6 separate regions of the Homo sapiens genome follow, and all the other regions are linked to region 3. The links are contacts of gene promoters, found by promoter capture Hi-C in blood cells and fetal thymus (Javierre and others, 2016). All regions are on one chromosome and are shown on one strand. The core of a region is centred on a gene start or on the middle of the fragment in contact, and the rest is flanking DNA. Distances in the headings are between cores, read along the strand shown. Region 1 has its middle 67 kb from the start of LINC01370. Region 2 has its middle 45 kb from the start of LINC01370. Region 3 holds the start of MAFB (MAF bZIP transcription factor B). Region 4 has its middle 110 kb from the start of LINC01370. Region 5 has its middle 130 kb from the start of LINC01370. Region 6 has its middle 140 kb from the start of LINC01370.

Evidence for each region. The method cuts DNA at HindIII sites, captures the fragments that hold promoters and counts their contacts. A CHiCAGO score of 5 or more calls a contact.
Region 1: a contact is called between a fragment that was not itself captured here and the fragment with the promoter of MAFB in region 3, in 1 of 17 cell types (M0 macrophages). The highest score is 8.1, in M0 macrophages.
Region 2: a contact is called between a fragment that was not itself captured here and the fragment with the promoter of MAFB in region 3, in 1 of 17 cell types (M1 macrophages). The highest score is 6.5, in M1 macrophages.
Region 4: a fragment that was not itself captured here is called in contact with the fragment with the promoter of MAFB in region 3 in 4 of 17 cell types (M0 macrophages, M1 macrophages, endothelial precursors and 1 more); the score reaches 18.1 in M0 macrophages.
Region 5: a fragment that was not itself captured here is called in contact with the fragment with the promoter of MAFB in region 3 in 3 of 17 cell types (M0 macrophages, M2 macrophages and M1 macrophages); the score reaches 8.9 in M0 macrophages.
Region 6: a fragment that was not itself captured here is called in contact with the fragment with the promoter of MAFB in region 3 in 1 of 17 cell types (M1 macrophages); the score reaches 5.3 in M1 macrophages.

What each region holds. Positions count from the first base shown.
Region 1 is chr20:39,934,636-39,939,452 of GRCh38, forward strand. No RefSeq gene overlaps it. Among named protein-coding and RNA genes, the nearest start is that of LINC01370, 67 kb to the right of the region's middle. The HindIII fragment of the contact is 3,074 bases long and covers 1,799-4,817 here.
Region 2 is chr20:40,047,437-40,052,180 of GRCh38, forward strand. No RefSeq gene overlaps it. Among named protein-coding and RNA genes, the nearest start is that of LINC01370, 45 kb to the left of the region's middle. The HindIII fragment of the contact is 1,257 bases long and covers 1,585-2,841 here.
Region 3 is chr20:40,687,655-40,691,963 of GRCh38, forward strand. It overlaps MAFB (MAF bZIP transcription factor B), which reads right to left and starts at 1,582. Exons shown (of 1, transcript NM_005461.5): 1 at 1-1,582. The coding sequence starts at 1,196. The coding sequence ends at 225. RefSeq lists silencers at 1,445-1,514, 1,535-1,844 and enhancers at 1,795-2,772, 2,773-3,748. The HindIII fragment of the contact is 7,144 bases long and covers 827-4,309 here.
Region 4 is chr20:39,891,611-39,896,327 of GRCh38, forward strand. No RefSeq gene overlaps it. Among named protein-coding and RNA genes, the nearest start is that of LINC01370, 110 kb to the right of the region's middle. The HindIII fragment of the contact is 1,525 bases long and covers 1,451-2,975 here.
Region 5 is chr20:39,874,744-39,879,038 of GRCh38, forward strand. No RefSeq gene overlaps it. Among named protein-coding and RNA genes, the nearest start is that of LINC01370, 130 kb to the right of the region's middle. The HindIII fragment of the contact is 6,081 bases long and covers 1-4,295 here.
Region 6 is chr20:40,141,157-40,145,563 of GRCh38, forward strand. No RefSeq gene overlaps it. Among named protein-coding and RNA genes, the nearest start is that of LINC01370, 140 kb to the left of the region's middle. The HindIII fragment of the contact is 3,756 bases long and covers 521-4,276 here.

The DNA.
Region 1 (4,817 bases), core at 2,086-4,585, 750 kb before region 3:
AAAATACCTTCAGAAATGTAGAGTAGGCCAGAGTTTTTCAATCTCATCACTATTGATACCTGAGACCAGATAATTGTTTGTTATGGGAGTTATCCTATGCACTGTGGGATGTTTAGCAGCAACCCTCTATTGACTAGATGCCACCAGCATCCAGTAGCTAAAATTAAAAAGGCTGACAATAATACATTTCAAGGATGTAGAACAACTGGGTTTCATAATTACTCTTTGGGAGCAATGAAAAACTCTTGAGAAGTACCTGTTAAAGCTACATATTACTTGTAATTTATGCTCTATGAACAACCAATTTCTCTTTCAAATATATACACATACACATATATATATTTGTGTCTTACATATATATATTTGTGTCTTACATATATAACATATATGTATATATTATATACATATCTATACACACAGAGAGAGAGGTAAATCTGTGTTCATATCCAACAATGGCATCTTTATAGAAGCATTATTTATAATAGCCCCAAACTGGAAACAACCCAAAGTGGAGAATATACATTAACAATGGAATATTACACAGCAATGAAAATAAATTATGGCTATATGCAAAGCAAAATACATCTTACAGACTTAAGGTTGAGTGAAAAAAGGCAAATATGAATGATGACCGTTGCATGAAGTTGAAAAACAGTCAAAACTTATCTGTGGTGATAGAGGCCATAATAGGTTAACTAATGAAGAGAACATAAGACATTCTGCAAGGGTACTGGAATGTTCTAAATCTTGATCTAGATAATAACTTCATCTATATCTATACAAATACAGATATAGATATGAATATTAAACTTCACTTTTGGATAGAGTTTATCTCAGAAATCTGGAGAATGTAGGTAAAGAAAGTGGAATATGATCAAGAAGACACATCAACTGAGATTGCATTAAAGATATATGGAAATTTGGTGAGATTTGCTCTGTTTTAAATACTAACCCTTTCTTTCTAATAATGTTACATCTTTCCATTTCTTTAACTGGTATGCCCTTCATTAAGATTTTATGGTTTTATTAGTGAGTCAAGTACCTTCATTTTTCAATTTATTCCTAATTAGTAAGGAATTTTGTTGCTTGTGTGAGTAGGGCATTCTCCCCCATTCCCATTTATAGCTGTTTTTTTGCAATTAGATACTTAAGGAAGCTGTGGATGTTTCTTTATATATGTACACAGAATGTACAAAACATGCATTACCATTGTACCTTGTTAGTTCTAGAAGTGCGTGTTTGTTTATTTGGTTATTTATTAGAGCTTCTTGGTTTATATTGGTATATAAGCATAAAAATCAATTGTCTATAAAAATAACTGACTTTCTATTATTTTTCAGTTAGCCAGGGTGTAAAGAAAGTAGCAATTGTTGCTCAAAGTATTCTCGAGCCCAACATGATTCATCACTTAATTCTGAAATGTCACTGTAATCTCATTTCAATATGAGGAAATCCGTACAGTGTCTCAGAGGCGCCTGTTCTCCATCACAAGGAGACGACTCACAAGAGATCAGGAATGCATTTTCTCTAATTGATTTTCCTTCTAGATGTGCATGCCAGTTCTGTCACTTTCTAGTTCTGACCATGAACAAGTTATTTGGCCTCCTTAAGGCTTAGTTTTCACATCTTTAAAATGGAGAAATAAGTTTTACTTGAATGGCTCTTTCAAAGGTCAAATAAAATATTTAATGAAAATAAAAAGCTTAATGGAGTGACTGACACATAGAAAGGACTCAGTAATTATTAGCTAGTAATAGTTATATCTTATACATGGTGTTTATACCTAAGACAGTGCAAAAGCTTCATGTTTCAGAATCAGCTACAAATCCAAATTGTACCTTTCTCCTGAGACCGTAAGTTATTCTGTCTTGTTACCCATTGCTGTCACAGAGCGTGGTTCCTAGAAACAACTGGAAGCCATCTGCAGTGAGTTTGGGCAACCTCATGGTTGTGTTGAGTGATCTGATCCCACAGCTCAGGCATCTGACAGCTGCAGTATTCGTGCCTCACTTTTCTGCCTGACTCTTGCTCTTGGTGAAAGCAGTTACTGCACCACCACTCTCTGGACTTTTTCCGCTGCATCGTCCTTTTGTCTTTTCAATATGGAACTGAGATTCTGTGAACAACAGGGCCATTTTACAGCCTATAGGCTGCACTCTGCTTGGGGGACTGAGCATTCTGAGGCAGGTTCCTGCCCTCATCCCGTTCTGGTCCCATATCATGATTGTTCCAGTGAAGAAGGTGTTGGGAGGTGCCCCATAAACCTTCCATATTTAGGGTCTTCTGAGCTGGCAGCCCACTGAAGACAAACATGGCCATGTGTCGATGGTTGTGGAAAGAGGATGCATATTGTCCAATTGACTGCCACCAGCATGGAGCATGGCATGCTGGCAGAAGCACAAGATCCAGAAGAGGATAGAAGGATCCCAGGTCTGGGGGAAACTAAACTGTTTCATCCTTTGCTAAGGGCTGGGGCCCATCAGGATGCTCTGGGCTGTGAAGTCAGGGCAGGAGAACAAGACTGTGGAGGAAAATGTAGTCAGAAAAGACAGTCTCAGCCCACTTCTCATCTGTTTCATTCAAGCCTGAATCATGCCTCATCTCTCCTCATGCTCAGCAGATAACGTTGGATCAACTGTATGTTCATTTAAGTCTCCTCAGCGTTCTTCCTTCTGATCCACCCATATTTTTACCATCATCTCCTACCAACCTACAGGCAGCCTCCCTGACTAACATGGATCTCTGTTCTGTTCTGTGCAATTTTTATTAATCCATCTTTGTTCTTCACATCTTTGTACTACCCTTTTCTTCCAGTATGGTCAGTGTCTTCACCATCTCTGCCATCGAAGTTTAATTCCTATCTCTCCCTGGGGATCCCCTCTCCAGGGACTGCTATCCCAGTCTGCCTCTCAAAATTAAATTCTAAAGACCCCACAAAATTTTTGAGGATTTTTCCAATTGTCCTAAAAGGTTATAATCTTACCTTACAGGGAATTTCCACAGAACCACTCACATTACATTCACATTTGTAATACATTTATCTGCATTACTAGACTGGAACTTCCTGAGGTCAGACACTGGGGCTTAATTATTTTTGCATCTCTAGTACTGCAAAGGGTAGGTTGAACACATATTGGTATTTGAATAACAAAGAGGAACATTTATATGACGATGGTATATGGAAGGAGGACATGAAGAGCCGCTCAGCACCACTAGTTTATTAGGAAAATGCAAATTAAAACCACAATGAGATACCCACTAAAATAGCTGAAATGAAAAAACTCTGACACTAGTGCTAGCACTTTTGCAGAGCACCTGGGACTCTTGTGAATTGCTGGCAGAAATGCAAAATCACACAGCCATTTTGTCAAACAGTATGACAGTTTCTTAAGAAGTTAACATACACTTACTGTATGACCCAGCAATTTGTCTCCTAGATATTTACCTAAGAGAAATGAAAACTTACGTTTATCAAAAACTAACTAAACAAAAAATCTCCCATTCCTGTTACAGTGGCTTCATCCATAATTTTCAAAAATTAGAAACAACCCCGACATCTTTCAACTGCAGAACTGATAAACAAGCTGTACCAAGTCCATGCAATGGAATACTATTCAGCAATAAAGAAAACGAACTACTAACATGAATAACAGCTGGATGAATCTCAAATGCTTGAGGCTGAGTGAAAGAAGTACACTCAAATAGTTTCATATCACATAATTCTATTTAGATGACATTCTGCAAAAGGCAAAAATGATAGGAAGGAAAACAGATCAGAGGCTTCCAGGGGTTGAAGAAGGGGTACATTTTGGGGGTTTGATATTAATGTTTTGTATCTTGATATCAATGACGGTAAAATGTTTCTATATTTTCTAAAATTCATAAAACTGCATACCTAAAATGATTTTGTCTGTATGTAATAATATACTTTATATCCAATAAAATATAATGGAAAGAAAGTGGAAATAGTGAAACCTCTTTCTTATCATCAATGGGCCCTAGAGAATCAGCAACCTATCCCTAGCTGGCTCCCACAAACTCACTACTTTACCCCCAGAAGTCACTGAGATGGTGAGGCTAGGATGTGACTATCACAATCTGTTCCTGGGTCCAAAGTTGAAGGTAGTAATGACTTAAAGTGTTTGATAAATGGGGAGAAAATAAAAGTGAGTAGTCCAGAGTTATCAAATAATTTATGTCCAGAACATGAACTCAAACATTTGACTGACATAAATTTTATTGAGTTTTCTTTACATTAATCCAACTCAGTAGGCCAATGGATAGAATTCAATAAAAATAATGTCTGTCAAAAGGCTGACATTATTTAATTTTAAAACAGAGTTAATCAGTCTTTACTTTGGGCTCTCCTAGCCCCCGTGTATACCCCTTGATTGCAGTATTTATTAAAATGTATTTTAATTATGTTTATATCCCAGTCTTCCCCACCAGGACTTTGGGTTCCTTAGGGTCAGGGATTTTAAGTTACTGATATTTGCACTCCAGGTGCATCACAAAGCAAGTGCTCAATACATTTTTTGTTGTTGTTGAAAAAATGAAAGGATGAATGAGGGCTCATGGTTTCCACTACTACATATGTGACATGCCCATCTCCCCATTCTATCTTCTGCTTCTCCATAATTTGCCCACTGCCACACATCTCTAAATTCTGCAGACCACCCCCAAGCTGTCCTTCCTGTCTCATAGCTGCAGCAAAAGCCCTCTTAACGCCCACTCTGGTTCCTGCTCCTCTTACAATTCTGTACCCAGACATAGACATCTCACTGAAACATTAAACAGATCATACCGTGCTCAGGCTT
Region 2 (4,744 bases), core at 963-3,462, 640 kb before region 3:
CCATTCCAATCAACTGCTGTATCCTTAGGTAACCTTAATTTTTCTTGACAATAGGCATTTCTAAAATCCTAACTAACTGTCACAAAGAAGGTACATGTTATGGAGCTAACACATTTTTGAAGAATCAAATGAGTGCTAAGGAAGGCAGGGCTACCATTGTTTGGAGGAATCATCTGATAAGTATTTGATTTCTTCCAAATGATAAGTCCTGTCTCCTTTCTGATTCACTTTTTTTTGAAAAACGTATAAAATGATATATTTTGGGCTCAAATAAGGTCAGTTAGAAATAGCTGGACTCATACCCAAATAGTTTGTTCTAGTTGTGACTAAAACCCTCAGTTGAACTTTTCTCCTTAAGAGAAAAATAACAACTCTCTATATAGACATGGTGATTTGAGGAAATTCTCTGATGTAGCTAATGTAAACAATTATGTATCATTGAGTCTAGGAAACTGGATTCTCCAAATTATTTCTCTTGTAAAAATGTATTTGTTAAGTAAACTGTAGTCCACACCACTTCCTCAGCCTTCTCCAAAGAAACACACTGCTTGAACAATCAAAGGATTACAAATTTGAAAGAGAAATTAAAGTTCATCTCACTGAACTCACTACCAACAGAAGTCACCATTTATTCTGAAAAAATCAAGATTATTTCCCAGGGACTGTTTTGCAACTAGCATTGTATTTAGGGAGCTTGAAGAAATATATGCATTTATTCACATTTTAACTATATTTCTTGGCATTCTTTCTGCATCCAGAATTTTTATTTTCTTCTTTTTTTCCAAATAGCAAACAAGCTTTGATCTTATATCAGTAAATTTATTCCCAAGGTGTCTTAGTCGATTTTGTGCTGCTATAACAGAATACCACAGACTGATTAATTGATAGTGAACAGAAATGTATTGGCTCACAGTTCTGGAAACTGAGAACTCCAATATTGAGGTGCTGACATCTGGCAAGGGCCTTTTTGTTGCGTCATTACGTTGCAGGGGGATCACGTGGTGGAAAGGCAAATAGAGGGTTAGAGAGAGACAGAAAAGGGAACCAAACCCACCCTTTTGTAAAGAACCCACTGCTTTGATAACAGCCTTAATTCATTTGTGAAGGTTGAGTCCTCATGGCCTGATCACCTGTTAAAGGTCCCGCCTCTTAACACTGTTACAATGGCAATTAAATTTCAACATGAGTTTTGGAAGGCACAAACACTCAAACCATAGCACAAGAGTAAGCAGAAAATATGCCAGAAAGCATGGGAAAATATTACTAAAGACTCATGTCATTAGTATACAAATGAAAAGTTTTCACTTCTGTAGTTATTGTAATCCAAGATTCTCAAACTTCGTAGATTGGGAGGATTTGATTTTATACATTGTCAGTTCAATGTTGATTTGGCTAGAAAGATTTGATGTTACTTGTTTAACTATTTGAAACTGAGTGCTATCTGTGGTCCTTGGGTGCAGTGGAGGGGGAAACGATCTGATGAACTCATGGAGGAACATAGGTTCTGAGAATGAGATGCCTGATTGATACCTGGCTGAGGACTTGCATGCTTGTTCTAAAATGTCTGTTCAGTTGACCTCTTCAAGCTTAATTCACACTACATTGAAGACAAATCAGCTCTTCCTCGTGTGAGGTAGACATCCATAGAAAATACCTGAGTTATCTTATCCCAGGGATAAGATAATCTATCTGCATGCCCAATTCAAGTTTGAAAACTCCTATCTTAGATTATTTTGAGAGCTTACATCTTAAACTTTAGATTTTAACAAGAGAGAACACATTAAATTTGACAAAAAATATTCATTCCCAGAAGATATTGCAAAAGATTTCTGATCCTTATATTCACTAGTTATTGAAATTCATATTTGGTTTGTCCTTTGGGCATAGAGTTGTTTGAACTAAGAATAATTTATTAATTTAGAAGACACCAATTATTAGTTTTTAGAACAGACCTACTCTACAATTTTCTAACTTTGATGATTGATACATCTCCCCAGAACCTGCCTTAATAATGACTACTCAAACCAAAGATCTGGCATTGTTAAAGGAAGAAGTAAACCATTTTTTAAAATAATCAGAATGTGTTTAAAGAAACTATACTCTTAAAAATATTCATTTTTAATGAGGGCCATGGAAGTTCATCAGCTTCAGAGTCACATGCAATCCGACCCTGGGTGGTTACACTTGTCCCAAAATCTGAACCTCCTCTGTGAAGCATTCGAGACAGAACCTTGTTATTTCTCAGACTTTGGAAAATGCATTGTATTGATGTTATGTAAAAAGCCAAACCTCTGTTCAGTGTAAATAGTTACTCCAGGGCCAACAATCCTAGTGCTTTCCTTTTTTAAAAATGCAAATCCTATGTGATTTTAACTCTGTCTTCACCTGATTCAACTAAAAAAAAGTATTATTTTCCAAAAGTGGCCTCTTTGTCTAAAACAATAAATTTTTTTCATGTTTTAAGAATAAAATATTTATTTTTGAATGTGGTAGATGAAAAACTACATGCAAGATATTTATCTCAAAATTATCAAAAGTCATTGAGTATTTGTGTGCATGTGGTAAGTGTATATATGTGTACATGCTCAGTAACTATGGAAACAAACAAAATAAGTCCTAAAATTGGGGAAATCTTTGTTTACCCAGTGGAGAAAGAGGAGGAACTGACCCTAAATAAGGAAGTCAAAAATGTAACAATACAGATATTTTGAAGGGCACCAAAAATTGAGCCAGAAATCTAAGTAACTGAGATGATTGTAAATAATACACAATAATAAATATAAAGCATATAATTATAAAACCATATACAACTATGTTCCTAATTTTGTCGGCTTTTAAGAAAGCTTGTTTTCTTTAGTGTTTTCTTCTCTAGGAAGCTTAGGAATAACTACATTTACAGCTCACCTATTGCAATTGCCAATACTTTATGATATATAGTTCTGAGTAGGACTCAGATTCTATCCTTCAAATTGCTAACCAATGGCTTCCATTGACTTAATTATTGTTTTTTATTGCATCTTTAAAAATAACTGACACACATTCATTAAGAAAAAATAATGATTATATGTAAATAAATAATACATTATCTGCCTTTGTATACATCTATCTAAATATAATATCTAGGACCTTTAATTGCTAATAAATAAGCATGTTGCCTTCTTTGCACACATAATATGTATGCTGATAATCTTACAATAGTACGATATTTCTATTCTGAAGAAGGCTTTACCATATTCAACTATTTAATCTCAGGAAGGTAGTTTACCTCTAATATATCAATAGCCTCTAACTGCTCTTTGATGCCCACAACAAGTTGAGACAGGCAGAGCCTCAAGGTGGTTTCCCTAGAATAAACATTGAGTGAAGGATGTGAAGGTGAGTAGCTTATTTGGGAGATGATCTCAGAAAGCACAGCAAGGAAATGAGAAAAGAAAGGAAATAAGACAGTACGGGATGCACAATTGAGTCCATTACTGCTCATTATCCTAGTTGAGTAACTAGGGCTCAACCTCATGAGGGATATCTGTTGATGGTTACAGTACAGAGATGTTATCAAAAGGGTGAGGTAGCTGAGCTATTTTTCTACCAACTTCAATCTGTCATTGATTGAAGACTGTTACAAGGGTCATTGATTCCTTGACACTTGCAGCCTGTCTTATATGGGGGGTTAAGCCCACTCCCAAGCTCTCTAAAACATCTGTTGCAGGTGTTTTCAGGAAGAAGCCTTTAGTAGAAAAAGCAAATACCTAGGAGATATGAGGAAGGCACCAGCAATGACTGTTATAGAGAACAAGAGAGAGAACTGGTGACAAAGGCATCTTCAACCTTCCTGAATTCATCCTTTGCATAGTTTGATAACATATTATTCAGTTTGCTTTGTAGAACAGACAGGAGGTGAATAGTGGTTCAAATAGTTAGGACAATGGTATCCTTTTTTGGCTCTTTTAATTATAAATTATATTCTTAGGCTATCTGACATATTCAGACATCAGTGCAAGAAAATATTTCAAAGTCAAATGTAAACACCTCTTAGATCTGCCACTGGGGTATATTCCTGCTCCCTCTTTTTCATAGCGTGGTTTCTGGAGAGCCAGATATTATCAAGTCGTGACAGCTATGAGGGCAAAGGAGAAATCAGGAATGAGTTTTTTACACACTCTTTCTGCAGTTATTTCTTTCCGTACTTTCTATAAGGCACCGTGAACCAAATTCCATCTGGTTCCCATGCATTGTAACACTTTAGATATCTGCCTCAGACTTCTCTGGAGATAAACTTCTGGCTAACTTGTTTTAAGGCCTTCTGTCCTGATCCTTTTATATCTCCAACAGTCAGCTTCTGTCAAACTTGTGGGAAATAAAGGATTTTACAGATGCTGATAAAAGATCAGAGGCACAAACCTAGTTTAAAATTCCAAAATCGATATTTAAAAAAGGGATGAAAACCCCCAGGAAACCCCTAGGTTGTCTAAGAAGTCCTCAGTTCAAAGATGGTAATTCAGGGATGAATCTAAGGATCTGAGTGTCAATAGGATCTAGGTTTGATAGGAAAAGAACGATCTTTTTCAGGATGCCATGGGGACTGTTTGACTTTATGACCACTGTACAAGGTGAAACTATAAGCGAGGCAGTGGGGCCAATGGGAAATTGTGCAGAGGAAAATCATCCATTCTACTTTTCTCTAATGCTCAGTTCTTAATTTTTCTGGAGGAAAAAACAAACAGAGATTAGAGATCTCATCGGTTTA
Region 3 (4,309 bases), core at 332-2,831:
GAGGCGGCGCTGGCGTGCGCTACTCTCGCCTTAGCCAAGGTCCCCTGCCCGCCCGCGCACCCGCCCGTCGCCCGCGGCCCGCGCGCCCTTCCTCCCTCTCGCTCAAGTCAAACAGGTCAAGGCTGGGGCCGCGGCAGGGACAGGGTCCGGGGTAGTCTGGGACTAGGGACGTGGGACAGGGAGTCCGGGCCGGGGCAAGGGCGGGGGCCAGGACCGGCCACGACTCACAGAAAGAACTCGGGAGAGGAGGGGCTGTCGCTGGTGGAGCCCGCCTCCCTGAAGCCGGAGTTGGCGAGTTTCTCGCACTTGACCTTGTAGGCGTCTCTCTCGCGGGCCAGCCGGGACACCTCCTGCTTAAGCTGCTCCACCTGCTGAATGAGCTGCGTCTTCTCATTCTCCAGGTGGTGCTTCTGCTGGACGCGTTTATACCTGCAAGACTGGGCGTAGCCCCGGTTCTTCAGGGTCCGCCGCTTCTGCTTCAGGCGGATCACCTCGTCCTTGGTGAAGCCCCGCAGGTGGCGGTTCAGCTCGCGCACGGACATGGACACGAGCTGGTCGTCGGAGAAGCGGTCCTCCACGCTGCCGTTGCCGCCCGCCGCCGTCGCCGAGGCCGTCGCGTGCGGCCCGGGCCCGGGGTGGCTAGTGGGCAGCTGTTGCGCCGGGCTAGCGGCGCTGGACGGCGGCGGCGACGCTTGGTGATGATGGTGATGGTGCGGGTGAGCGTGCGGGCCCAGCTCGTCGTGGGCCACGCCGGCGCCCGGGTACGCGTGGTGCGGGTGAGGGTGGTGGTGATGGTGGTGGTGGTGAGCGCCGCGAAAGCTGTCGAAGCTTTGCAGCGGCTGTGGCACTGGGTGCGAGCCGATGAGCGCTTCCACCGCGTCCTCGGGCGTCAGGTTGAGCGCCTCGGGGTTCATCTGCTGGTAGTTGCTCGCCATCCAGTACAGATCCTCGAGGTGTGTCTTCTGTTCGGTCGGGCTGAAGCTGGGCGACGAGGGCACGGAGCTACACGGAGTGCTGAGCGGTGTGGAGGACACCGAGCCGGCTGGCTGCAGGCGTGTGCAGGGCCTGCCCGGACGCTCCGCGCGCCCCAGTGGCTCCTTCTTCACGTCGAACTTGAGCAGGTCGAAGTCGTTGACATACTCCATGGCCAGCGGGCTGGTGGGCAGCTCTGGCCCCATGCTCAGCTCCGCGGCCATCGCTGAAGCGAGGCGCAGCCGCCGCTGCCGCCCGGGAAACTTTGCGGCCGGCCGGAGCGCGCCGAGCCAAGCGCGGGGGGGAAGAGCGGAGAAGAGCTGGGGAGGCGGGGAGCGAGGGCGCAGCGGGCCGGGGCCGCCGGCCAAGCCTTTGTCTGGGGACGCGGCGGCGCGCCGGAGAGTCCCGAGGCTGCCTGCACCGCCCCAGAGCTCTGGGCTGTGCCCGCGCAGGGACCGGGCCGGGTAGAGTCGGGCGGGGTGGAGAGGCAAGCGGAGCGCGCGGTGGGGCTGAGGGGAGGCGTGGGGCGAGTGCCCGTTGCTCGCTCTCTAGCTCTCTTGCTCTTACGCTCTCTCGCTCGCAGCCGCTCGCAGCTCGGCGGTGCAGCTGTGCTGGATCCGGCGGCGCCGCAGCCTTTTATCGCCTCCTGATGTCACTGGGGTGCGGGGGCCCGGGCGGCCCGGTGCGCGGGCCAATAGCTGCACGGCCTCCGCGGCCCAGCGGCGCAGGGCGGGGCGCGCCTGACAGCTCCCCCGCCCCCCGCGTCAGCTGACTGGCGGCCCGAGCGGCCCCGGAGCGGCGGAGGCCTGGCGGAGCGCTGGAGCGGAGTGGGACGGCCAGCCTGGGCCCACCCCCGTACCCTGCAGGTCCCGGCCCACGCACGCTCGCCTGGAGTGCGCGCCCCACCTCTAGGCCAAATCACCGCTTTCCCCTCCTCGCGCACTCTCCTCCCTCAGTTCCCTTTGCACCCCACCCCCATCCCGTGTCACCCCCAAGGAGGCTCAGAATGAGCGCCGGGACAACGCCTCCTGGGCCCTTTGTTCCCAAGCGGCCCCCGCCCAGTGGGCGACGCTCTGTGTGTCCTCGCGGCTTCTGGCCGTGTGTGTCGTGCGTTCCTGTTTCTGGAGATCTGCGCGTATTTGTATGTTGGGGAGGGCGGGCTCGAGGCTCCGAGAGTTGTGTTCAGACCCAACTCTTAACCTCAGGGGACCTTTCTCAGGCCAAGCGAGGGCCCCTCCTGGCGGGTGCAGTCGCAGAGCCCTGAGGTTCGACTCCACTGGCCCCGCCGCTCCCCGCGTTCACCCCACCGCACAATGTTCACAGTGAAGGCGACGGGAAAAGCAGCAGCCCAAAGGCTCTGAATTCCTCTTCCCCGCCACACGCACGGAATCCTGAGCCCCCGGAGCCTCGGGGCCGAGGCCGGCCCGGGACGGTGCTCCGAGTAGCTCTCCACTGCTGGGGAGCCGGCCCTGTTTTTGTTTGAACGTTTTGTAACGATTAAGCAGATCCCGGCGTCAGCCCGCCGCGGAGAGGCTCAAACAGGCATAAAGTGCGACCCCAAGTGGCCACTGTGCGCAAAGGCGCCGCGACCGCCCGGCCCACGGCCGGAAGGCTTGGACGGCGCCTCGTACCCAGCCAGGTCTCCCCTACCTGGCCCAACCCAAGCCAGCCCAGAACGCATACTATGTGTGCACCAGAGCCCAGGACAGGTTCCCCTCGAGCGATGTACAGGTCCTCGGGTCCCGTCTTCGTACTCAGCCGCGAGCCTCGAGCCGCGAGCTCCGCTCTGGTCGCCCCGTTGAAATTCCGTGCCCCAGCGTTCGGGGGTGCCCGTCGGCTGCTCCCTGGGCCGGAAGGTCCTGGGCGGAGGAAGGCCGGTAGCCAAAAGTGGAAGCGCCACAGTGAAGCGGCCCAGGGCCACCGGGTGAGAAACCTCCCCGGAGGGCAGACGGGGAGACCGAAGCACACCGCACTAGGCATCCAGACTGGGCTTGGGAGCCGCGCACCCTCCCTACCCAGATCCAGGATGGCTAGAATTAACGGGTTCTTTCTGAGACCTCGGCTCAGGCGCCGAAACCGGATAGATCGCGAATTCGCTGGACCCGGAGACCCGACCCGCCTCCCGCGTCACCTTCTTCTTTCTAGCTTTGGGCGCGCGCAGCGAAAGGCAGGAGAGGCGCGCACTGGGTGAGTGAGTCCCGGCCGCTGTCTGCGCTGGACCAGCCCGACTGACCTCGCGCGTAGGGGTCGCGTGAGCCACACCGGTGCAGACGCGCCTAGATTATTTTTAAATGTTAGAAGGTAAAATATTTGCCTCCAATTAATCTGAAAACTCTCTATTCTCTTGCGCCCTCGGAGAGGCTGGGGTACGGCGTGGTATTGGGCCGCCTATTTTTAATAAAATGAGTGTATTTTAACTAAAACTTAACTCAATCTTGTGGGGTGGCAAATTAAATGCTGGAAGAGCGCGTCTACAACCCTCTTCGAGAAGCGTGCTCTCCGCAGAAATGAGTCGGCCGCCTGGAGAGAGAGCCTGGGCGGTGCCGCTGCGCAGCCCCTGCCAGTAGCTGGGGGTTGGGGACTCGCACCTTGTAAATGTCCTCGTCTTGTTTGAACGCAGTGAGAGCACACTCGTTTCCAGATCACTCGGGACCGGGTGTCTCGGATCTGTGCAGACTATGTATGGCTCCGGCCTCAGGCGGCCAGGGCGGGACAAGCACGCCTGACTCTCTTGGTCCCGACTGGACTAGAGCTGGTAGCACCCTCCCTCAGGGTCCTAAGAGACCTGTGGCTCCCAGAGTGTTTCTGCCACTGTGGACTTCTGCGCGGGCACCAAGATGGACAGGCCAAGCTGTGACCCACTCCACCCCCGCCCATACGTCCCCTCGGCTCTGCCTGACACTGGCCGTCGAAGACTTCCGTGGCCCATTAAGGCCCTGGGGATTCCTGAGGCCCCAGGTCTGCGGTTCCGAACCTCCTCTTCTCCTGCGGGCGGCCTGCCTCCGACTCAGGGTCTCTTGGACTCGGGCTTTGGGCAACCGCGCTCTTCTTTGTCCCTGTGCCTCTGTCTCTGTTGTGGTCACTCCCTTCGCCTGGGCTTTGACTGTGGTATCTCTGTCCATCCCCAGGCTCACTTCCCCACCCAAATCCGTTTCTCTGCCCCTCTCCCAGCTTAGCCACTCCCTCCTCTGCACACCCCACAACCTACCCCACCAAAAAAAAATGTTGGAAACAGCCCTACCCCTGCCAGGCTGTGGGTGAATGACGGAGACATGCAGGTGGCCGAGGAGTTAAGGCCGCTGCTGCGCAGCCGGCCCCACTTCGTGGCCTGGCCTCC
Region 4 (4,717 bases), core at 963-3,462, 800 kb before region 3:
TTCATTGGTAAATATTTCCTTAGTTGCATGGGGGTAGGAGAAGTGATAGGAGATATCCCCTCTGTCATGCAGCCCAGTCTCATGACATGAGGCAAGATATGGAAGTGGTCTCTGGAGAGGTGGGCCCACTCAAGGAAATCATCAAAGACTTCTGAGAGAATGTATTGGCAGGGGGGTGGGGTTGTGGAGTGGCTCTTAGGGGTTGGTTTTGTGGGATAGGAAAATGTTTACAAGACAGAAATTAGAAGAGGACTATACCTAGCAGTAGGAATGGCCTGAAGAATGACTTTGGTCTGAGGAATAAATGGTGAGTCTAGGTTTTCACATAATCCATTTGGGCTGGACTGTTGTAAAGTTCAAATGTATGAATATGACTTATATGGACTCCTACCATGGCCTCTGCTCCCTTCTTCCCATCACACAATTCTATCACTTTTGCTTTACTCTTTAGCCACAGCTTTTTATAGTACCTCTATTCTTCCATGCTGTTTCAACTCAATGACACTTTATTAGTCCATTTTATGTTGCTATAAAGGAATACCTGAGGCTGGGTAATTTACTAAAAAAGAGATTTATTTGGCTCATGATTCTGCAGCTCTAGAAGAAGCATGGCACTAGAATTTGCTTCTGGTGAGGTCTTCAGGGAGTTTCCAATCACGGTGGAAGAGGAAGGGGAGTCAGCGTGTCACACAGTGAGAGAGAAGGAAAGAGAGGAGGAGGGGTGCCACACTCTTTTAAAAAGTCAAGAGCTCATCATTACCTCAGAGGAGGGCACCAAGCCATTCATGAGGGATCCACCCACATTATCCAAACACCTCCCACTAGGCCCCACCTCCAACACTGGGGATTATATTTGAACATGAGATTTGGAGGGGACAAATGTCTAAACTATATCAGATACCATTAATAATTTTCCTTCATACTCAAATACCCTTTTCCTTGATGCTTTCTTCATCTGGTTCATTGTTGTTTTCCTTCTAATTTGCTTCTCCCAGAAAGCCTACTTTGCTATTCTGGGCAGGTGATCTCTACCATACAGTTCAATAGCACCCTAGTATGTATTCACTGCTGTGCACAGTGCTTGGCACTGTGTAGGAACTCAGTTAGACAAAATAAGGCCAGGCACGGTGGTTCACACCTGTAATTCCAGAACTTTGGGAGGCAGAGGCAGGTGGATCACTTGAGGCCAGGAGTTCGAGACCAGCCTGGCCAACTTGGTGAAACCGTGTCTCTACTAAAAATATAAGAATTAGCTGGCCATTGTGGTGCATGCCTGTAATCCCAGCTACTCAGGTGGCTGAGGAATGAGAATGACTTGAACCCTAGAGGAAGAGGTTTCAGTAAGCTGAGATTGCACCACTGCATCCAGCCTGGGTGACAGCATGAGACTCTGTCTCAAAAAAATAAAAATAAAACCAGCTGAAAAGAACTGGATAGATTAGATAGAAGAAGCTTTGAAGCAGAGGTCAAGTTCAAAGACTGTTTCTACAATGATCCTAGTAAGAACCAGGGTATGTCTGTAAACATACATGAGGGATATGAGGAAGAAAGATTGCTGAGAGATAATTCTGGCATGTGGACAGGAATTTCAGACACCAAAAAGATGGGAGGGCCTTGGATTCCACATAATCTAAGAAATACGCCCTCTGTAGTCCTCAAACATGTTTTGCAAGTGTTTGGCCATTTTTTCATAAGGGAGTTTTTCTAGTAATTGGAAAATCTATATGAGGAATTGCTTCCAGTTATTCAGCAAGTCATTTGCTCAACAAATGAACACATGCAATGTACTGTGTACTGTTGACAGTACAGCACAAGGATCCAGGGATGACTAAGGCTCCTCCCCTACCATAGAAAATCCCAGAGACCAGTAGAGGAGACAAGTGCTTGAAACAAATGACAAAAGCTACTGTGTTAAGTAGTGAATCTCCTCTTTTCCTCAGGCCCACTTTGGCCTCTGACAGCACAGGGTTGATGAGTCAGCCTCTTTTCATGTGAAAACATCTGTCTGGTCCCCCCAAAGACTTCTCTAAACATTCTTCTGATATGAGGTAATTATTTCATATTTGCTGCATTTGTTGTGAACACTGATAATCTCATGAAGATCTATTAAATGTCAACGTGTTCCTTTCTGATCTACTTAACTAGTTGATGCCATCTTTAGATGTATGTATTGTAGTAGTAGTTACGGAAGGGACTTGTAATAAACAGATGCAATGATAAATTCAGTAAAAACATAGAGAATCATTTATGTTTCTCAATTATAAGTTAAAAGGCAAAGCCTTGGTAACTGGATTTTCTTCCATTTGGGGAAAGTGTGATGTAATAATCCTTCATTTTTAAGAAATAAAGAGAAATGGGTGGTTTGTTCAGTTCTTGATATAAAGAAGTCAACTTTAAAGCAACATTTTATTAGAACCATAAGTTTTGTTTGAAAAAATTTAAAATCCAGAGTTTATTTTCCTTTGGAGTTGCTGCAGAGAGTCAACAGGAATCGAGATAATTTTTTTTCTTGTATTTGTGCTCACTTATTAAACACATATGTGAGCTAGATTCCTTGCATAGGTGCAAAAGGATTTGGAAGAGGGGGGAAGGTGCAATTTAGTTCATTGACCTGCTTCCCTGCCCTCAGGAGTCTTTCAAACAGCTGTGAGAAAGAGGAAGAGGGGAAAGGAGTAATTTTGCACTCATATCCAGATGTTCATTTCAAACGCATCCTGAACAACTTTTGCATGGTTTATTACATTTTCTGAAACCATTTTTCACAAGCCTGTTTTCTCAGCTGGGAAACTTCTGGTGTAGAATTTTCAAAAAAATATTGCATTTGGCATTATAAGAAAAAAAGAGCTTTTGAGACATTCAAAGAACAATCTGTTGGCCTTGGTCTGCAGAAGCAGGACTTCAGGAATGTAGGCATTTTGTACCACCCAAAATATAGGTAGACGAAAGATCTATTCTTAACATTTGCTTTACATGGAAGCTTGAGAGATCCTTTAGCTTGATGATTTCAATGATGTGCTATCTTAGGTTGGCCTGAAATATCACAGAAAAGAAACCTAGCTGGGGACAAACAGGACCAGTGGAAGAATCCATCTGAACCCAAACCAAACCAGAAGCTTCCACATGGCACTTCAAACACAGTAGTTCAGTTTTGCAGAACTCTGTACTATTCTAGTCCCACCCATCTTCTGAGGTAAAGTGGGAAAGAGTGGAAGAAAAATAGTTATGAATGCTAATTAATTTCTTAGAAGCCTATAGGATGCCCTTCCCATGGTTGGTCCCATCCATTCCCCTTAAGATCCAGGACCTGACAACAGAGGAATTGAGGATCTAGAACAGCCCCTAGTCCCACCGCAGAGTGGACTTGGTCTCCTGGCCAATTGCAGGCAATGAAACTCTTCCTTCTTCATCCTTTCTACATGTGGAATCAAACCTAGAAATACCCTTAGGAAGGAGTGGATGACCCAGAAAGATGAGTCCAAATGGAAAGACTAAGATCTGCTCTTAAAGAAAGGAAATCAAGCTGCAGAGGTCAAGGAAATCAGGAGAAATGATAAAGCAAAGTTTTAATGTGGAAGAAATAGAAGATCAGGGGTTTTAGAACCCAAACCAAGTCTTGGATACGTTTCTTAACCTTCCTGACGTTCAGTTTGTCCACTTTTAGAATTGAGCACGCACCTACGTCTTTATACCAGAGGGTGTCAAAATGAGAATGGAGTGGTGTGATGTATGAATATACCATAGCATACCATAGGTCCTCAATATTGTTTAGTTCTTCACACCTATTCCCCAACTTAGAGAGGTAGCACAATAACGCTAGACATCCGTATTTCTGTAAATATTTCTGTCGAAGTTCTGTGTGTGTCTCTGAGATATTAAAGATATTATCCAGTAGGCAGTTGGTTATACTAATGGTGCAGTCAAGAGAGAATCTGATTTGAGGATAGAGATCCAATAGACACAAGCACAGGGGTGATGGCCGCACACATGAGCATCTATGAGGGCACCCAAGAGACTAAAGGGAGTGAGAGGTAACAAGGACATAAAACAGAGTTCCCAGGACACCAGCCTTGGAGGGACAATCCACATAAGAGAACCCTGCAAAAACAAAGGAAAAGAACACTGAACAAAAACAATTAAAGTAGAAATTAATAAGAACAAGGCCAAGAATGCTTCTAAAAGAAATGAGAGGGAGGATTTTCTAAATTTTAAAATAAATATAACCCAAAATGTAAAATACTGTGGGAAACAATAACAGTTGTCCAAGACCACATATTGCACTATGAAATACTGGGAAGTGAAAAAAGAAGTAAAAAAATAAATAAATAAAATGTGCTAAGTTTCTCAACTAAAATAGGACTGAGTCAAAAGCTATTGTTTCTTTTTGACCTTGATAATTAGAGAAATATTGGATCAAGTACATTATTTTGCAAAATTTAGTAGAAATAAAAAACAGGATGATTCCTCCCAAATTACTGCAGGAGATTAAAGAAATCAAAGCAGAGTTCATCTAGCTAATGACAGGAAATAGGGGAAATGGTAGGAAAGCATAAAATCCAGAAAACATAAAATAAGATCATAGAAGGAAGTGCAAATGTGTCTCTTATGACATTAAATGTAAATTATAATGCCACCCTTTAATATTTAGGAACCATCAGTTCAGGTTAAAAACAAAGATGCACCTCTTCAAAGGAACAATTTTTAAAAAGTGTCTCAGAAA
Region 5 (4,295 bases), core at 1,603-4,102, 810 kb before region 3:
CCCTAACCCCTGTTTCGAGACTGTACTGACTCTTGTCATCATAGGAGAACAGAAACTTCCGCACCCCTCCCATCACTCACTCATTTATTAATTTATTGAATCACCCATTCAACTAAGATTTATTAAGCATTCACTTTGTGATGGGCACTCTGTCTACAACTACCAGGTAACACTATCTGGAAACTGAGGTAGCCATGCCTTTGCTATTCTGGACACTGTAATACTGTAACCCTCCACTGCAGCCACCATGACAGCAGGAAGGATTGACACTCTATCCTCACATGAATTTCCAGTGTGCTTTGAGGTTGAGCCACCAAACTCCTCCAGCAAACTGCCTTCTTTTATTTATTTATTTATTTATTTATTTATTTATTTATTTATTATTATTATACTTTAAGTTTTAGGGTACATGTGCACAATGTGCAGGTTAGTTACATATGTATACATGTGCCATGCTGGTGCGCTGCACCCACTAACTCGTCATCTAGCATTAGGTATATCTCCAATGCTATCCCTCTCCCCTCCCCCCACCCCACAACAGTCCCCAGAGTGTGATGTTCCCCTTCCTGTGTCCATGTGTTCTCATTGTTCAAAATGATGAGTTCATGTCCTTTGTAGGGACATGGATGAAATTGGAAATCATCATTCTCAGTAAACTATCGCAAGAACAAAAAAAACCAAACACCGCATATTCTCACTCATAGGTGGGAATTGAACAAACTGCCTTCTTATATCTCCCCAGACTCATGAGCAAATGGTAGCACAGGGTAAAAGCCCAGGAAGTTCATGCTGATGCCTTGGGAGGATACACAAGAGGGTCAGTACTGCTTTTACCCCATGATGATGCAGGCAAGAAGACATCCATCCTCCCATATCTGTTTACATCAGCCCTGATGCCTCATAAAACTTCCCCCCATACAGTCATTAACGAGGTGGTAACAAGGATATCAGGGGCCCAGGGGAGACACTCTGTTTGATGTTCTGGATGAAGGAAATGCAGACTTGCTCTTTGTGAAAGTATGAGGGCTAACTTGGAGGCCTGCCTGACAGTCCCTGTAAGCTCAGACATGAAGTCAGGGGAATACAATTGTGTGAAAGAAGCAGAACAGTGAAGTGTTGAGATGGCAAAATTTGGAAGCCCAAGGGCAGGGAGCAGAACAGGAAAAACAGGCATAAGAGTTTTCCATGTGGGTAACATAAAATGATTAGTGACATCCACATCAACAGAAGGCTCCCTGTTCTTTGCTTGTGGTGTGTTTTTGTGTAGACATCCACACTTCCGATCCACAGTGAAGCCTACAAAGGGGCTGAGCACTCTTCCTGCAGTGAACTTATACATGTGCAATTGTACGTGTCTTTATTTTTCTCTTTGTTATTTGTGCTGCATTTAACCCTATGGCTGGAACATTATAAATGTTGAAAACTTTGTTGAATGAATAAAGAAATAAATGGCTCAAAGATGGGACCATTTAGCAGGAAGAAGGACCTGCCAACCTTCTTTTTCTCTTTTTTGTCTATGGAACCAGACAAGGGCAAAGGATAGGGAAGTGGCACTGGGGAATTCCACTCTAGAATGTCCTTGAGACTCCCAGTCATTGGTAGGGCTGATGCTTACCGGACCTTCTGGTGCCAAAGATCAATGTCACCATAACCAGGGTAATGTGGGGAAGGCAGACCTCAGTCCTCAGCCCAGAAATGGCAAGTTCTTCTCACCCCACATCCTCTCACACTCAGGGCTGGCAGCTTTTGAATGGGGAAGGACCCTTTGTTCTACCCAAAGATGATCATCTAAATCAGACCAACAGTCCAGCTGGGACATCCACATATACCTTAGTATTCTCTAGTATTTATTAGAAATTGGGCAACTCTTTACCTTCTAGGAACAATCTGCAGTTGTGTGGAAGGATCATTGACATTGTAATATCGACAGCAAATAGCTTTTGAGCACTTATTTGCGTGGGATACTTTTAAAATCTTCTACAGCCATTATCTCATGTGTCATCACAACATCCAAGAGGCAGGAACCTTTACTCCTCTTGTTTAGTACATAAGGAAAATGAGGTCTGGAGAGGTAAATTAACTTTTTTATGGTTACAATGCAAGCTATTGGCAAATCTGAACTGAATCCAGGAATTCAGCCTTCTAAGCAACGCTCTTAAGCATTGCACTGAATAATTAGACTCATGTTTATATCTAACTTTACATCTAGCACTAGATGACTTTGTGGTTTTAGGTCTATTACATGCACTAGCCTCCACTGTTCTTATCTATAAATGGAAAACATAGTGTGTCCCACGATTCTTGTAAGGATATGTGCTAGACACCTCATCAGAGCAGTGTCCAGCATATAGGAGGTTACTTTCATTCCCATCACTTTGGTCATTAGGAGAAACTCATGAGGAATGTTTTGGTCTCCAGTTCTGCCGAGTCTGTCTCTTCCTGGATCTGCGAGTATATATGATGGTACTCTTTTCCCCTGGCAAGAGAAGGGCAGCTGGGAAACTGTTGCCTCTCAGGATAAAGGAGAATTATCTTCGAGGAGTGCCAAGTGCGTGCTTATTCATAAAACAAACATTTATGGAGCTTCAACAAGAGTCTGGGCAGCAGCAACTATAGCGTCAGGGACTGTGCAGTTGGTTCATTAGAAGCTGAAGCCCCCCTGGAGGCCTGCAGGGAGCGGGCCTGGAAGGGGGAGTGGAGTGCAAAGGCCAGCTGGTTCTCTGGCAACAAAGTCAACATCGCCCCAGATGTCTGCCCTGAGGTTGAGGCCATTAGCTCCAGTTTACCTGTTCACTTCATTTTTCAAAATTAGCCACAAAAGCCTCCCACGGAAACACAATGGGCAGCATTTCTCAGCGGGGGCAAAAAGAAAACAAAGCATATCTTTCCATGCACTTGTTTGGAGTTTCTGAATGTCCCCCAGAGCCCTGGAGGCTTGGCAGGCACGATTTGGATTGCTCCCACATGGATGTCTGTGGAAGCCCCACTTTTCTTTCCTCTCCCAGATTCACCCCAGCTAAGGCCAGGCTGTCCCACCCCTGTCATCAGCCTTGCCTGAGCACCCCAACCCTAAACCCAGGAAGACAATGACTTTCTCATTTTCTTGCTCCTTTTTCCTAGGGGATAATATTACAGTTTAAATTCCTGGGTTGACTTTGAGAGTTGCTGGGAGATGGTATTAGCTTTCAACCACCTGATTTAATCTCTTCTCTCACTCCCACCTTCCCCCACTGCTGTTCAGACAAGGCAGAGGGCAAAGGGGAGAGGTGAGGAGGTTAAACGCTTGACTGCAGAGACATCTTTTCATCAGGTTTTGTTGAGAGCAGGGCAGACAGGAGTAGCCAGGGTGTCCGTAGGGCAATGACAGCTTGTGTCTGTCTCTTGCTGACTGTACAGCCCCATATGAACTTATATGGGAGAAATGGGGAGAGAGGGCCAAGAGAATGTAATGATGAAAAGAAAGATGAACAAAAATATAAATACTGAAGTATAAGGCTGTGCAGTTGGAGCTGTCCAGTGCAAAATACATTTTTGCCCTAAGACAGTTCTCTCTAACCTAAAAATCAATAGAAAGTTATGCAATAACCTACTGTGTGCTAAAAAAAAAAAAAAAACTTGCCCCAAATAAAAATAAATTGAAAATATTGGTAGGAGAAAAAACAGCTTCTTTAAACACAGGCCAAATGCAAAACAAGTGAAGAGAGAACCCTCAGATGTGATTTATTGGTTTCTATTTTTAATCTTTGGGGAGTCAAGGGAATAGGAGAGATGCCAGGAGTTTGGAAACTGGATACAAGGAATGTTTTTATTTACACATGATTTAGCTACTAATTAAATGTGTCGTTTACTGTCTATCCTGCCTGGAATGTAAGTACCAAAAGGACAGGGACTTCTGCTTGCATCTTTTCCATTGAAATATCCCAGTGCAGAGAAGTGTGTTCGATTTGTAGTAGGTTTGGAACACTATGTGTTAATTGAGTAAATGACAGGAAATAGAGGTGAGTCTGCAGCTTCCCTCAGCAAGGTGTTTTTCAGGACTACTGTTTGCAGGCCAGGTAATTGTGGGGGTCTCTTCTTGGTTTGAGTCTCTATTTGGAGCTCCCAAACTTCTCTCCTCACTATGTGTGTGTAATGTATGTTTTCTTGTCTTTACTAAAGAAGTTAGTGAAAGATTTTAGTATCCTCTGACTCACCATCCTCCTGACTTCAAGAGCTCTTTCTTTCTGCGTCGTCCTTGGCTCTGGTCTTAAACTCAAGCTACTTTGGGTAGTGTAGTAGGCTGAACAACAGGCCCC
Region 6 (4,407 bases), core at 1,149-3,648, 550 kb before region 3:
GGTCATAAATGCTTTGCCAAATGTTTTGGACTTTATCTCATAGGTCATGAAAACTCAGTAAGGAGATGAAATGATAATGACAAGGTCATATTTATGTTTCAGATTGTTGACTCCAGTGAGAGTGAAGAGGCCGGATGGGGGTTGGAGAGGCAGAGCTGGTGTCCCATCTGGCTCTGAACCATTTTATAGTCCAGGCAAGAGCTGATGAAGACTAAATGAATCAGTGATGTTATTGATGGACAGGAAGAGTATAAGAAACAAACTCTGCAGATGTTTTTTTTTTCAGCCATACTCATCACATAAGTGGTGAGTAAAGGAGAGAAGAAGCAAAAAATAATTCATTGATTTCTAGCTCTGGTATTGGATAGATGGTATGGCCACTACCCCATCAACAAAAAGAATTTAAGAGGAAATGCAGTTTTAAAGAAAAAAAAAGTTGAATTTATTTTAGAATATTTTGGATTTTAGATGCCAATGGTCATTAAAGTTGAAGTCATTGAATCTGAAATGCCTATCTTCAAGCTTTAGCTTTCTAACACAGGAAGGCATTTATATAAGCCAACCCTAGGGCACAGCTATAGCATATAATTCCAATAGAATATTGGGGTTCTAAATTTTTGGTATAATATACCTCATAACAGGCTCTAGAGTATCCAAAGCCAAGCCTCTCTGAACTCTGAATCCACAGGGTAAGGAGGGAAGCATCATGCTGGCCAACACACATGCAGTATTTTCTTTCTCTCATAGTCTCTGGTCTCTAAAAATTGAAGCTCATTTGGCTTAGATGGCCTAGTTTAAGGTCATTTCCTTTACCTACACCAGAGTCTAAGGTGGCACATGCTTTATCAGGTGTTTGTGTAGGCAGGGACTTTACCTGTGACCAGTATAATCAGGCTTCATAATGTGTCTTTACCTATTTGCTTAGGAATTATGTGTGGCCCACAAAACATGGCCCAGGAATTATTTTATATTCCTACTTTGACATTCTCTGCAACGACTATCAACCCTTGTCACCAGAACAACTCAAGCCGTTCTCTCTAAGACCTGAAACATACTCTGTAAATCAATCCTACTCATTCATACACTGGGAGCTACCCAGACCCCTCTTAGTTATATTGGCTGTATGCTTATCAGAATTTACCTGAAAGTTTCTCCATGCAAAATTTCTCCCCATAGAGTTATCCAAGACCAAATGATATGGGTTCTATATTTCCTCTGGAGCTGGAATCTGAGTGAATTATCCTTAGATCTTCACTGTCATTCGAGCATCACCTCTGAAAAAAATCTCTACGTTTCCAAGGTCGCCCCTGGAAATGTTTTTCTAGAAGAACCAGATATATGACTCTTCCACCTTTTATCTTTTAGAAACCAGAGCAATGCAATAGGAATGGTAATTTTGATGCCCTAACCAAAGTTTTATCAGACTGGCATCCAATCAAGGATTTAACCACTTAAATATTGTGCTTTGATAAAAGTTCTACTGAGAATTTGTGATTATTGGAGTTCTTTTACAGGGTACTTCATAAGCCATTACATAAGACACTAATTATCCAATATTTCTACCAGCAGGTGATCTTGTACTAATTAAATTAACATTGAAAACTGCTAACATCATTGATTAAGGGTCCAAATTGTTACTGTATATCAGTAACAATTAGGACAACTTCATTTTGGGCAAAAATCAAATCTGCCTTTCCCTTTATCACAGGAGATTAATTATCATCTTTTCCTAAGAAACCAGGCTCTCACCTAACAATAAAGGCTCTTGTGATTTGTCTACATTTTGGCCTCTAATTATGAAGTTTGAGGATGGCAGTCATCAGGTTCATGGAGTGGTTAATATCAAGAAATCTGACTTCAGATTTGGTTGAACATATTCAAATCTCAGCCCTGCCACATAGCAGATATATACTCCTAAGCCAAGCATGATCTTCCATTGGGCTCAGTTTCTTTTTCCATTGTACAGTAATAAAAATAGTCCCTACCTTAAAGGGCTGTGATGATCCCTAACTGAGGACAGCCTTGTAAAAGAGTTAATTATCAGCCTGACACATGAAAAGGGCTAAGTAAATGGTGGTTATTGCCATTATCAGTTGTGTTTCTCATTCTCTTGTGCTAATGATTTAATACACTTCCAATATCTCTTCCAAAAACCTTAAAGTTGGAAGGGGATGTTGAGAAGATCACCTTAACGAATCTTTAACTTTACTGAGAAGCAAAAGTGCTGACTTAATAGGATCCAAGGGAGACTCCAGTGGCTGGTCATTATACCTGGCTATTTCCCTTTTTGTAAAAGTCATTTGAAAAACATTGAATAACAAATAACCATGAAGACTTTATGATCAAAGATTCCCAGAACTACTGTGAAAAGGGGAAAAACCATGGAAGTCCATATTTCCAGCCCAGCCACACTGTGGACAGTCCTCACCTTCCTTTAGAACTTTTGCTCCCAAATACAGAGAACACCTGTGGGTGATTTGGAGCCATTGTTTTTGAGAATTATTCTCATAACATCAATTTTAAAATATATATGTTTAATCTATCACTCTCTTTGTGCCAGCCATCATGCTAAACTTATCTGCATTATCACATTCTGTCTTCATTTGAAGGAGGTATTACCATTACCTCCAAGGAAGTATAATTATTCCCATTCTATAGGTTAATAAACTGGACTCAAAGAGGGTAATTGACTTTTCCAAGGTCACCCAGCTAGTACATGATCAAGGTGGAACTTGAATCCACATTGTTCGCATTCCAGAACCCACAGCCTTAACTACCATGCACACCACCTCCATGGGTGAAGACCCTCTTCTTTCCTGTGGGCATCCTTGGGAGACAGAACACCCAGGAGCTCCTGAGTACCATTTTTATTTTGGACTCTCTGATGCCCAGGATTTTTGGTGGCAATTCGGCCACCTTTGGATAAGTTTGACATCTTCATAAAATTCCCATTAGCCCTACTGCAAAACAGTGTAAATGAGCCATCATCCAAATTCCCAAATCTATCCCTGGCCTTCACTCCTTACAATTTGACTGACAAGGTAGCCAGTAATACTATGTACCCAGAAGTTTGCAAATTAATGTCTTCTTCTGGCCCTCCCTCATTCTGTCAGAGACCCTCTCTCCCAAGCCCCAATTACCAAACTTCATCTGAAGCCTCATTTTCAATTCTCTTTTCACTAGAAGTTCCAAGTGTCTCCTAACCCAGCCTTTTCAAAACTGACCTACCCTCTGTAATCCCCAAATCTCCCTTTTCTCTCCACTCTGCCTCAAACCCTTCGCAGGGCCCACCTTCCTCAGATCCTCTTTTTCAGTACCCACATTCTACACTTGCATTGCAGCTCAGCCTCTCCTTCTGTGCCTCCCCGTCCACCCCCTTACACGCTCAGGCCCTATAACTAAGCACTCCATCTAATGGACCTTCTTACTTAGCCTCAATGTTTGCTTTCCGATACATTGGATTTATAGAGTGTTTGCCTGAATTAAAATGCGAAATTTTAGAGCAAACCAGGCTTCTCAGCTGCTAAGCTCCATCATGTACTTTAAATAAGGAGGAGGGGGAGTGTGTGTGGAGGGGTGCCTGATGCATTGACCTACCCCTGAATTACCATCTCGACCCAGGCTGCTCACCTTCCAACCCAGCTGGTGCCTACCTGGCCCTACTCACCTCCCCCAGCTAAATTAACAAAGCAGTTACTGCTCATCCGCAGAGCTCCCTCTAATCAACTCCCAGTGAAATAATATTTGCTTTCCATGCCTACTTTGAATCCCACTCACTTTGTTAAAAGATTGCCTCTGGCTGTCTCTGCTGGCCTAATCTAATAGTTTCTAGTTTGTACAAGCAAAGCGTTTTCAGCCACCTATATAAATAACTTAAGCAGGAGAGGACACTTGTACAGCCCCAGTGCAGGGCTATAGGACATGACAGATCCCACAATGACTCCTTGGCCAATCTCCTGGGGGAGCACCACCCGCTGAGTGGGAGCAATTACTGTACTCCATGAGGCTGACAGGACAGTCTGTCTGTCTATAGAAAGTCTGATGGGGGAAAACTATTCCCGTCTGTTTTCTCCAGTGCAGGTGACCATCCTAAGTGCCTCGGCCCCCTCTATACCCCTCCATACTGCCTGATCCATGGTCTCAGAGGGAGCCTGTTCAAAGTAGAAAAAGCGGAGAGGAACTAAATCAATCTATTAGTTTTCCTCTAAAAATTGTAATGCAATCAACTTTGCTTTTAAAAAATTGTGGTAAAATATACATAAAAGATTACCATAAAAGCTTACCATCTTAGCCCTTTTTAAGTGCACAATTCAGTAATGTTAAGTATATTCATAATGTTGTTCAGTCTCGCTCCAGAACATTTTTCCTCTTGCAAAACTGAAACTTTGTACCTGTTAAAATGACAGT